Linked DNA regions of Homo sapiens: regions 1, 3 and 4 are each linked to region 2. Evidence: promoter capture Hi-C in 16 types of primary human blood cells and fetal thymus (Javierre and others, 2016). All regions are on one chromosome and are shown on one strand. The core of a region is centred on a gene start or on the middle of the fragment in contact, and the rest is flanking DNA. Distances in the headings are between cores, read along the strand shown.

The links. Contacts are between HindIII fragments. The CHiCAGO score rates a contact against its expected background, and 5 or more counts as called.
Region 1: a fragment that was not itself captured here is called in contact with the fragment with the promoter of IRAK1 in region 2 in 8 of 17 cell types (M0 macrophages, monocytes, total CD8 T cells and 5 more); the score reaches 9.4 in M0 macrophages.
Region 3: a fragment that was not itself captured here is called in contact with the fragment with the promoter of IRAK1 in region 2 in 2 of 17 cell types (non-activated CD4 T cells and activated CD4 T cells); the score reaches 7.0 in non-activated CD4 T cells.
Region 4: a contact is called between a fragment that was not itself captured here and the fragment with the promoter of IRAK1 in region 2, in 2 of 17 cell types (non-activated CD4 T cells and fetal thymus). The highest score is 6.1, in non-activated CD4 T cells.

What each region holds. Positions count from the first base shown.
Region 1 is chrX:154,301,199-154,303,898 of GRCh38, forward strand. All of the region lies in intron 1 of TKTL1 (transketolase like 1), which reads left to right. Among named protein-coding and RNA genes, the nearest start is that of TKTL1, 6.8 kb to the left of the region's middle. The HindIII fragment of the contact is 3,860 bases long and covers 1-2,700 here.
Region 2 is chrX:154,018,652-154,021,351 of GRCh38, forward strand. It overlaps IRAK1 (interleukin 1 receptor associated kinase 1), which reads right to left and starts at 1,251. Exons shown (of 14, transcript NM_001569.4): 1 at 1,026-1,251; 2 at 780-947; 3 at 546-677; 4 at 324-427; 5 at 1-136. The coding sequence starts at 1,161. It overlaps MIR718 (microRNA 718), which reads right to left and starts at 1,338; the gene lies at 1,269-1,338. RefSeq lists silencers at 621-690, 701-800, 1,151-1,530 and enhancers at 1,216-2,185, 2,301-2,370. The HindIII fragment of the contact is 4,941 bases long and covers 426-2,700 here.
Region 3 is chrX:153,758,656-153,761,355 of GRCh38, forward strand. All of the region lies in intron 2 of PLXNB3-AS1 (PLXNB3 antisense RNA 1), which reads right to left. Among named protein-coding and RNA genes, the nearest start is that of PLXNB3, 4.2 kb to the right of the region's middle. The HindIII fragment of the contact is 6,541 bases long and covers 1-2,700 here.
Region 4 is chrX:153,718,283-153,720,982 of GRCh38, forward strand. It overlaps BCAP31 (B cell receptor associated protein 31), which reads right to left. Exons shown (of 8, transcript NM_001256447.2): 3 at 2,590-2,690. Among named protein-coding and RNA genes, the nearest start is that of BCAP31, 4.8 kb to the right of the region's middle. The HindIII fragment of the contact is 5,559 bases long and covers 1-2,700 here.

The sequences.
Region 1 (2,700 bases), core at 56-2,555, 280 kb after region 2:
AATACTTAGTGCAATATGTTTTTTTAAATCTTGTTGGCCAGGCGCGGTGGCTCATGCCTGTAATCCCAGCACTTTGGGAGGCTGAGGTGGGGTGGATCACCTGAGGTCAGGAGTTTGAGACCAGCTTGGCCAACATGGTGAAACCCTGTCTCTACTAAAAATGCAAAAATTAGCCGGGCGTGGTGGTGCACCTCTGTAATCCCAGATACTTGGGAGGCCGAGGCAGGAAAATCACTTGAACCCGGAAGGTGGAGGTTGCAGTGAGCCGAGAGAGTGCCACTGTACTCCAGCCTGGGCAACAGAGTGAGACTGTGTCTCAAAAAATAAATAAATAAATCTTGCTCCAGAGCCTGGGCTAGATAGTAAGAGGACAGTGTGGATGCAGTTAAGAACCATATATGTCTGAATTTTTTGTACATGTTCATTTTGTTCCCTTCACCTTCAAAATTAGTAACAGATGGCTGCATTTTCTCAAGGGATCTGTGTGGCTTTTAAATCTAAATCATCCACTTACAGGACATTTGCAAAGCAAGAGGTTTTAGTCCCCATTTTCTTTCTTTTTTTTTTTTTTTTTAGTAGAGACGGGGTTTCTCCATGTTGGTCAGGCTGGTTTCGAACTCCCGACCTCAGGTGATCCGCCCACCTCGGCCTCCCAAGATGCTGGGATTACAGGCATGAGCCACTGTGCCCGGCCTAAGTCCCCATTTTCTTTTTTCTTTTTTTTTTTTAAATGAGACAATTATTTATTTTAGGCAGATAGTCAACTTAAAAATCATTCAGCGTGGGCACTCCTGAAACTGTCAGGATCATGTTGGTTTCCTCGCTGTTTGCCGGCTATTGGCATTTGTGTCATCACACACAGTCCGATGAGGTGACAACAGAAAAGCATATCTCACTTCTATCGTAGGTTTCCATTCACTTTCGGGTTCTCAATCGCCCTGTGTTTCCTCAGTGATACTCCAGACTTTCCAGATGTTCTGGTTGACCCATTCCTCTTTCTTTTTTTTTTGCAAAACAAAGCAAAAAGCAAGAAGAGAACTTTACATTTTGTCCAATAGTCCTAAGAAATTTTCCCTGTAGAGAATGTCATCTAAGTCAAAACAAGGGTTGAATAGGGGCACCCAAATCAGTTATCACTTAGGGCTGTTATAAGAAATGCCAAGACTGGGTGGCTTAAACAGCAGATATTCGTCTCTCACTGTCTGGAGGCTACAAATCCAAGATCAAGGTGCTAGCATGGTCAGTTCTGGCGAGGACCTGCTACTGGGCTCAAGAGCACTACCTTCCCCCCCGTATCCTCACATGGTCGGTCTCCAGCCTCTTCTCATAAAGGCGCTGATCCCATTCATGAGGGCTCCACTCTCACAGCGTAATCACCTCCCAAAGGCCCTGCCTCCAAATACTGTCACACTGGCATTAGGATTTCAGCATAGGAATTCTGGGGGGACACATTCAGTCCATGGCCTCCCGTACCTGTGAATGTGATCTTATTTGGAAATAGGGTTTTGTAGGTGAAATTAAGTTAAGGATCTTGAGATAAGATCATCCTGGACTTAGGGTGGACCCTAAATCCAGTGACTAGTGTCCTTATAAGAGAAAGAAAAGAGAGATTGGAGACACACAGACACCGTGGAGAAACGCAGGAGAAAAGGTCCTGTGAAGGCAGAGAGGCAGGGACGGGAGTGACCCAGCTGCAAGACGAAGAACACCTAGGGCCAGCAGTAGCTGGAGAGGCAGGGGCGAGGGCGATCCTCCCCTAGGACCTAGGGAGAGAGCGTGGCCCTGCTGCCACCTGGATTCTGGATTTCTGTTTTGAGCCATCACGTTTGTGGCAACTCACCCTGGCAGGCTTAGGAAACGAATGCGTTAACCCATTGCATTAGCGCACAAAATAACACCCTGACTCGTTTCCTGCGCCAGCCTCCTACCTTGCCTTCTACTTATTAGACCCTACCTCTCATTCCCCATTTTTTAAAATTTTTATTTATTTATTTATTTATTTATTTATTTATTTATTTATTTATTTATTTTGAGGCAGGGTTTCACTCTGTTGCTCAGCCTAGAGGTGCAGTGGCGTGATCATGGCTCACTACAGCCTTGACCTCCTGGGCTTAAGCAACCCTCCCACCTCAGCCTCCCAAGTAGCTTGAACTGCAGGTGCATGCCACCCTGCCCAGCTAATTTTTTTTTTTTTTTTTTTTTTTTTTTTTTTTGGAAAGACGAGGTTTCACCATGTTGCCCATGCTGGTCTCAAACTCCTGGGCTCAAGCAATCCTCCTGCATCATCCTCCAGAAGAGCCGGGATTACAGGTGTGAGCCCCCACGCCTGGCCTCTCCCTCCTTTTTATCATTCCCTCTTCCCTCGTCTTCCTTGGCTTTCCTCCTCACACCTCCTGCGTTTGGCCCCCTTCCATTTTCTTTTCTGCTTCTCTTTCCCAACTTCCCCCTCATCATGCCAGGGGGACTCCTGGGCTGCGTGCCACCCCCCTGGAAGTCCCCCATAATGAAGCAGGATTTATGCCTCACACTTCACCATGGGAGAGCAGAAACCTCTCACTTGAAGCAAAAGGCACTGAAAATAAGCAAATAGTTATGCATTTGTCACTACCGAGTCCTAGCTGGCTTCCACCCTACCCCCCGCCCCCCACCATCTTCTTGCTCATTCAGGTCATCGTGTTCTCTGATACCCAGTAACTTCCA
Region 2 (2,700 bases), core at 1-2,500:
CGCACCCAAAGCCACCCTCCCCGATCTTGAGCTCCTCCGAGAAGTTGTGGGTGCCCCGGGAAATCTCACAGAGGGGCCAGCAAAACGGAAAGGGGCGGGCTCCCTGCAGGAGGGACACTGAGCTCTCTGGGCCTGGCTGTGGGAAGAGAGCCTGGATCAGGTGGGGTCCCTGTCTCTTCCCTTCTGCCCAAGGCTCCAGGCTCTCCCCACCACAGCTGCCTCCCAGCTGACCCAGCTTGGCTGACTGGGGCTCTGCGCTACATCAAAGGCTGAATTCCTTCCTCCTTGTCTCGAATCTTCCCTGGGGGGCAGGGGACACCTACCTTGGTAGAAGAAGGGGCTGGAGATGGCGGTGGAGGCCACAGGGAAGCAGGGCTTGGGACCAGGCCGAGCTCAGGCCCTGAATGGGTCTGGGAGCCTGGAAAAGCTTCATAAAGACACCAGTGAGAGGCAGGCAGAGACCAGCAGCAGGGTCTACAGCCGTGGCCGTGGTCAAGGTGGGCTCTTCTTTGGGTCCACCGAGCCTAACAACCGGGCCCTCTTACCTGGGGAGAGGAAGGTGGAGGCTGAGGATGGCAACTTCCGGGGGCTCCAGGCCTCGGCCTCGGCGGGTGCAGGGATGCTGCTGGGCCTCGGGGCAGTGGTGCCTGGGGACGGAAGCGGGGCGGGAGGGTGCCCTGGGACGCCAAGGAAGGAAAGGAAGGTTGAGGCCCGGGTGGGGGAGCCCCGTGGGGCCCGCCGGCCTCCCAGCCGTGGGGTGCCCGGAGTCCCGCGCTCACAGGCTGTGATGATGTCCCGCGCACGGAGCAGCTGCAGGTGCGTGAGGATGTGCACGAGGTCGGCCACACGGGCGTTGCGGTTGATCCAGGGCCACAGGACGCTGGCCGTGCGCTGCCCGGAGCGCTCGCACAGCCGCAGCTCGGTCTGGTCGCGCACGATCAGGGCGGCTGCGGGGCGGGGGGCGTCAGGCGTCGGCGCCAGGAGCCCGCGCGCCTCCCGCCCCCCGGCAGCCCGCCGCCACCCACCGAACTGGCACCAGTCGGCGGGCTCCAGGGCGTCCATCACTTTGTAGAAGCGGCACATGACCCAGGGCGGCACCTCGTACAAGAAGTGCTGGGCGCCGGGGGCTGCGGGCTCCCCCGGGCCCGGCCCCCCGGCCATGGCTGCCGCCGCCGGGCCGGGACCTGCCGGGGCCTCTCAGGGCCGCGGCGGGCGCGGGCCTGGGCCGGCCGGGTCCGCGGACACTGACTCACTTCCCCTTCGAGCCGGCCTCGTGCGACGCCCGGCGGGGCGGAAGGGGCGGTGCCCGGGCCCGCCGCCATCTTGCGCGCCGCGGCCGCGCGCTGGGTCACACGGGGGCGCCCCGCGCCGGGGAGGGCCCGGGTCCCGGCGGGTTCCGCGAGCGGCGATCGGCCTCCCGGGCTCGCCCGGGCGGGGCTCTGGAGGACGAACGGCGGCTCCCGGCGTTGGGGACAGAGGGCAGGGCGGAGGCCCGGGCTGCTCGGAAAGGGGCCGGGGCCGGGCCTTCCGAAAGCTCCTGGGCGGCCCTGCCGGAACCCTGCTCTCCACTGCGGCCTGCAGGGCTGTTACCAGGAGCCCTGCCTGCCCGCCCCACGTCTAGCCCCCTGCACACGGCAGCAGCCTTGAGCCATTCAGTCTCCTTAGGTGTCCTGAAATATGCCGAGAACGCTGCCCGCCACAGCCGTGAGTGTATGCGTTGCTGCTGCCCCAGCCCTCATTTGGCAAGGGTGAGCTCAGGCAGCTGTGGTGAAGGCTTCCTGAGCCCGCCGGCAGAGCTCCTGCCACCCCGTACCTGTCCCCTCCTGGGCATCGTCCTTGATTACTTGTCTGGACCGCCACCCCCGGTCCCCGCCCTGAGATGGGGAAGACCCCACAAGCAGCAACGCAGACTTACTCTTTTGTTTCTCCAGCTGGATGTCTCCTCCAGCGACAGTTCCCCTTGCCCTCTTGATCCTGACAGCGAAGGGGTTCCCCACCCCTAGCCCTACAGACTTAGGACTTTTCCTAGAAACGAGAAGTGCCCAAGGCCCACAGCTGGCCCCTGTTGGAGTCTCTTTCCTGAAGCCACCACCACTGTGGCCACTCCCAAGGAAGATGCCAACCATACCATGAAACCCATGGCTTCTCACGGGACAGACTTTACTGAGATGTACCAACTCAAGTATCTGAAATGACTGCACACCCATGCTAACCTCCACGGGGGCACTTGGTCCTACTTACACACAAAGGCCCATCAGCTCACGGAACAGGGCTGGCATACGAGATGCTCAATGCATACAAGTTGACTTTTCAACCCTGGGATCTACCTTTGAAGGCCAGGCCTTCCGAGGGTACCTTCTAGCATGTGCATGTGAAGCTGGACTCCTTTGAGCAGTTGTCTCCTCCAGCCCCTTACCAACCTGGTGAGGCTGCTCCTGAGAGCCAAGGAAGCCAGTAACAAGGGGGCCCCCTTTGGGCAAACCCCTCAGCCTGCCCTTGCCTGGTCAGAGAACCACGTTAGCAGTCAACAGAGGGCACGTGAGGGTCCTGGCCAGAATGAGACACAGGAGGAGCCACAGCCTGCGGGGGTGGGGGTGTCCAAAAGCACCACAGCACATCCAGACCTAGGGGGTGCCCCTACCATACGGGTCTGGAGCAGGGAGGTTGTGCTGCAGGCTGACTCATGCCAGGCCCTTCCCG
Region 3 (2,700 bases), core at 117-2,616, 260 kb before region 2:
CCAGCCCGGGCGACAGAGCTAGATTCTGTCTAAAAAAAAAAAAAAAAAAGCATGTTCCTAGAAAAATATTGTTTATCAAAAATTGACTCAAAATAGAATGATTCATCCTAAATTCAGATAGAATCTCAAGGGGCTCCAAATAACCAAAACAATTCTGAAAAAGGAGAACAAAGTTCGAGGACTCACACTTCCTGATTTACAAAATAAAACATATTACAGTGTGGTCCTGGCATAAAGACAGAGACAGAATATAATCCAGAGCCCAGAAAGAAACTCTCAAGTATATGGTCAGATGATTTTTGACAAGGGTATCAAGGCTACAAATTGGGAAAAGGGCAGTCTTTTCAACAAATGGTATAGGGGAAACTTGATATCCACATGCAAAAGAATAAAGTTGGAGGCTGGGCATGGTGGCTCACACCTGTAATCCCAGTGCTTTGGGAAGCCAAGGTAGGAGGATTGATTGAGTCTGGGAATGGGAGACCAGCCTGGGCAAAGTAACAAGATCCCATCTCTACCAAAAACATTAAAAATTTGAGGCTGAAGCACAAAAATTGCTTGAACCCGGGAGGCAGAGGTTGCAGTGAGCTGAGATCACGCCACTGTACTCCAGCCTGGGTGACAAAGTGAGATCTGTCTCAAAAAAAAAAATTAAATTAAAAATTAGCTGGGCATGGTGGTGAATGCCTATAGTCCCAGCTACCCAGGAGGCTGAGGCAGGAGAATTGCTTGAGACCAGGAGTTTGAGGTTACAATGATTATGCCACTGCACCCCAGCCTGGGCAACAGAGCAAGACCTGTCTCAAAAAAAAAAAAAAAAAAGATGGCAAATTTTGTGTTATGTATTTTTTCCCACAATAAAAAAATTACTCAAGAAGAAACAGAAAACCTAAATGGTCCCATAATTATTACAGAAGTTGGATTCATTGTTTAAAATCTATAGGGGGACAGGCAGGAAGCTACAAAAACAAGGAAGGCCAGGCCAGATGCGGTGGCTCATGCCTGTAATCCCAGCACTTTGTGAGGCCGAGGCAGGCAGATCACCTGAGGTCAGGAGTTCAAGACCAGACTGGCCAACATGGCGAAACACCGTCTCTACTAAAAATACAAAACTTAGCTGGACGTGGTGGTGCATGCCTGCAGTCCCAGCTACTCGGGAGGCTGAGGCAGGAGAATCGCTTGCACCCAGGAGGCAGAGGTTGCAGTAAGCCAAGACTGTACCACTGCACTCCAGCCTGGGCAACAGAGTGAGACTCTGTCTCAAAACAACAACAAAACAAAACAAAACAAAACAAAAAAAACAAAGAAGAGAAAAGAAAAGAAACAAAACAAAAAACAGAAAATAAAAAACAAGGAAGGCCTAGATGGTTTTACAGATGATCTCCAGCAAACATGGAAGTAACTGATCATCTCCATCTTAGACTAACTGTTCCAGTGAACAGCTGAAAAAGGAAATACTGCCTCAACTCACTTTACGATGTCTTGATACCAAAACCAGACGAGGATAATAATACGAGGCTAAAAAAAAAAAAAAAAACCACCCAATCCAGAATTGTATATGAAAAAAATACATCACGCAAAGTTGAGTTTAGTCCAGAAAATACAAGAGTGGTTTAACATTTAAAAATGAATTAATGTAATTTGCCACATTAACAGATTAGAGGAGGAAAACCCTGTGATCATATTAATGCATTCAGAAAAAGCATTTTATAAAAATTCAACATATAGCACACTAGGAATGGGAGGGAGCTTTCTAAATCTGATAAACATATCTACCGAATGCTCCCTGCAAACATCATACTTAATAATGGAACACTGAGAATGCCTCCTATGCTTTTTTTTTTTTTTTTTTTTTTTTTTTGAGACAGAGTTTCGCTTTTGTTGCCCAGGCTGGAGTGCAATGGCTCGATCTTGGCTCACCGCAACCTCGGCCTCCTGGGTTCAAGCGAGTCTCCTGCCTCAGCCTCCCAAGTAGCTGGGATTACAAGCATGGGCCACCATGCTCGGCTAATTTTTTTGTATTTTTAGTAGAGACAGAGTTTCTCCATGTTGGTCAGGCTGGTCTCGAACTCCTGACCTCAGGTGATCCACCCACCTCGGCCTCCCAAAGTGCTGGGATTACAGGCGTGAGCCACCATGCCCAGCGCCTCCTATGCTTTCATTCAAAGGAAGTAAAAGCAAGAGAAAGCAAGTCCAGGGAAGTAAAGCAAGGAAACGAAATCAGCCGGGCACAGTGGCTCACGCCTGTAATCCTAGCACTTTGGGAGGCCAAGGCAGGTGGATCAGGAGTTCCAGATCAGCCTGGCCAACATGGTGAAACCCTGTGTCTGGTAAAGATACAAAAATTAGTCAGGCGTGGTGGTGGGTGCCTGTAGTCCCAGCTTCTTGGGAGGCTGAGGCAGGAGAACTGCTTGAACCAGGGAGGCGGAGGTTGCAGTGAGCCAAGATTGTGCCACTATACTCCAGCCTGGGTGACAGAGCCAGACTCTGCCTCAAAAAAAGAAATCAAAGCTAAAAAGACTGGAATAGAAGAAACAAAATGGTCATTACTTGCAGATGATAGGATTGTGTACGCAGAAAATCAAAAAGAATCCACAAAGAGAACCCAAACATAATTATTAGACTTAATATGAGAGTTTACAAGGTTACTTGATACATAGAAATCCATTGTTTTTCTATGTACCAGCAACACACAGTCTG
Region 4 (2,700 bases), core at 97-2,596, 300 kb before region 2:
ACTGCAGTCTGGGCAACAAAGTGAGATTCCATCTCAAAAAAAAAAAAAAAAAAAAAAGATGTCTAACGTGCAGCAGGTAGAAAAAGCACAATCCAAAGTATTGGCTAGGCTCTGCTATGGACAGCAGTCTTATCTCAGAGCTGTGCTACCAGCTCAGGCGTGGAATGCTCCTCCTGCCATGTCCCAGCAGGAATGTGGAAAGAAACATAAATACTTTGTGTGTATGATCCCACCGTTGTAGACATTTTATTAAAGATGTCAGCATACAAAACCCCTCTGGAAATGCACAACAAAATACTCATGATGGTTACCTGTGGGAAATGGGATTATGGGGAGTTTAACTTTCTAAATTCAACTTTTGAATTTTTAAGAATAATTACCCATTATTTTTGTAATCAGAAAAACAAGATAAACATGTTTCCTTACACTGTCACCTGCATCCAGGAACCCCACCATCCTAAGGACCACCTTGGCCAATGACCAATAGTGGGGATGGGGGACTGAGCAATACTAACCCAAGTCCCACAGTAGAAACCAGCCCTCCCTGTCTCGGGCCTCAGCCCAGGTGGGAAGATCCTGCACCCTCAGCAACTCCATCCTCCAGGAGGATCTGCTCAACCCTCCCCACCCCCAAGCAAGGCCACAGCTCTAGCTAGTTATGCCCCTTACCCTTCACTAGTACCTGTGACTAACACTTCTGTTTGAAGAAGGCTCTGCAGATCTTTCTAGATTATGCTTCTTAACATGGGAGTAGGAAGCAGCCAGTCATCATGGCCATATGTCCCCCTAGAACTTCCAAGCAGTTCCCCGATCCCAAAAAAGAATGAAGGCTTTGTCAACTACTGGATTCCGCAAAGGATCTCTCCAGCCCACTCAGCTGCTCTAGGAAAGAAACATACTCCTTCTGGTTTGGGGAAGGGGCAAGACCCTGAGGGAATCATCCTCAGCATGGTCCCTCCCCTCCCCAGTTATTACCCCCACCCCAGACCCAAAAGCCAAAACACACATGCTCAGTTCAAAAACTCAGTGGCCTGGGGATGACACATATATTACCTACCTACTCCTGGCTTGGAGGCTGCTCAGGGCGAGAACCCTGGTTAGAAAGAGCTACTACCTCTTGGGGCCTTGCCAAGTATTTCAAGAACACTGAGGTGCTCAGGCAGCTGGCACCTACCCTATGTGGTTGGAAGCTGTCAGGTAACACTTGGCCTGTTCAGAGGCAGTCCAGCCTGAACATATCCTATCAGGCTCTGAGACATCAGGAAGGAGAAATGCCTAATGCTGAAGCTGGTGGGTGAGGCTTTGCACATTCCCCTGAACCACAGCCCCCCACCCGCTCAGTGTTTCTGCTGGGACTCGGTGGGAGGAGTGTTCCACGCCTAGGCAGGCACCACAGCTCTGAGACAAGAGTGGTGTCCACAGCAGAGCCAAGCCAATACTTTGGAGCCCAAACAGGGGGACATATCGATCACTTACCACAGCAAAACAACAAACATCTACCAGTCAGACAAGAGCTTTATTGATTCTTGTCTCCAGATGGTCACCCTACCACCTCATTGCAAAATGTCTGCCTTTCATCTTACCACCACCTGGCCTGGCCTTATCCCAGAGCCTGCTTGCCCTTGGACCAGTTTATCTTTCAAGCACCTGCTAGTGTACACCTCAATGTCAGAGTTTACAGAACTACAGAGCTGGAACGACCTGGGAAAACCTCAAGTCTAGCCCAGATGCAGAGAGGTCTAGGATCTCTCCCCAAGATATGCTGCCACACATCTCTGTGTTCTCCTCCTACTACTACAGGGAATGGCAGGACTTCACTGTGTGCTTGGTTGCTCAGTCCCCCATTAGAGGCCCTGCTCCAGGCAATTCTGCTGTTTAAGTGACTGGTGAGCAGCACTACTCAGACCAAGGTCACAGGCCAGTTAGCTTCTCTTGGCTTCAGTTCTAGAGTGACCTGAGGAGCAGCCTCAGAAACCTTAGGCGTCCCTCCTTCCAAGGTCTTGAAAAAAAGCAATGTAAGGTGGCCGTCATAAGCTGCATACAAACTGCTTGGTATAAGCCCACGCCCACTGCTAGAGGGGCCTCTTTTTTTTTTTTTTGAGATGGAGTCTCCCTCTTGTTGCCCAGGCTGGAGTGCAATGGTGCGATTTAGGCTCACTGCAACCTCTGCCTCGTGGGTTCAAGCAATTCTCCTGCCTCAGTCTCCCAAGTAGCTGGGATTACAGGTGCCCGCCACCACGCCCAGCTAATTTTGTATTTTTCGTAGAGATGGGGTTTCACCACGTTGGCCAGGCTGATCTCGAACTCCTCATCTCAGGTGATCCACCGACCTCAGCCTCCCAAAGTGCTGGGATTACAGGCATGAGCCACCATGTACGGCCTAGAGGGGCCTCAAAGTGAAGAACCGACTAGCGGTCAGCAGCATGGGCAAAGGGAGCCTCTTCCCTCCCTCAAGAGAAAGACACAGCATTTCATTGGTCTGTCTCCTAGCAGCCAAAACTGGATGCTACACATCAAAAGTGGCAAAGGGTTTTGCAGCAGAGACCAGGGTCTAGGTCAGGTAGCTGCCCTCAGCCATAGCTCACTCACCGATGACCAACAGCACAAGGATGACAATGAGAACCACAAAGAAGGTGTTGCCATAGGACACTAACAACTCCACCAGCCGGGACTTGAAAATCTTCTGCCATCTGTGAAGAA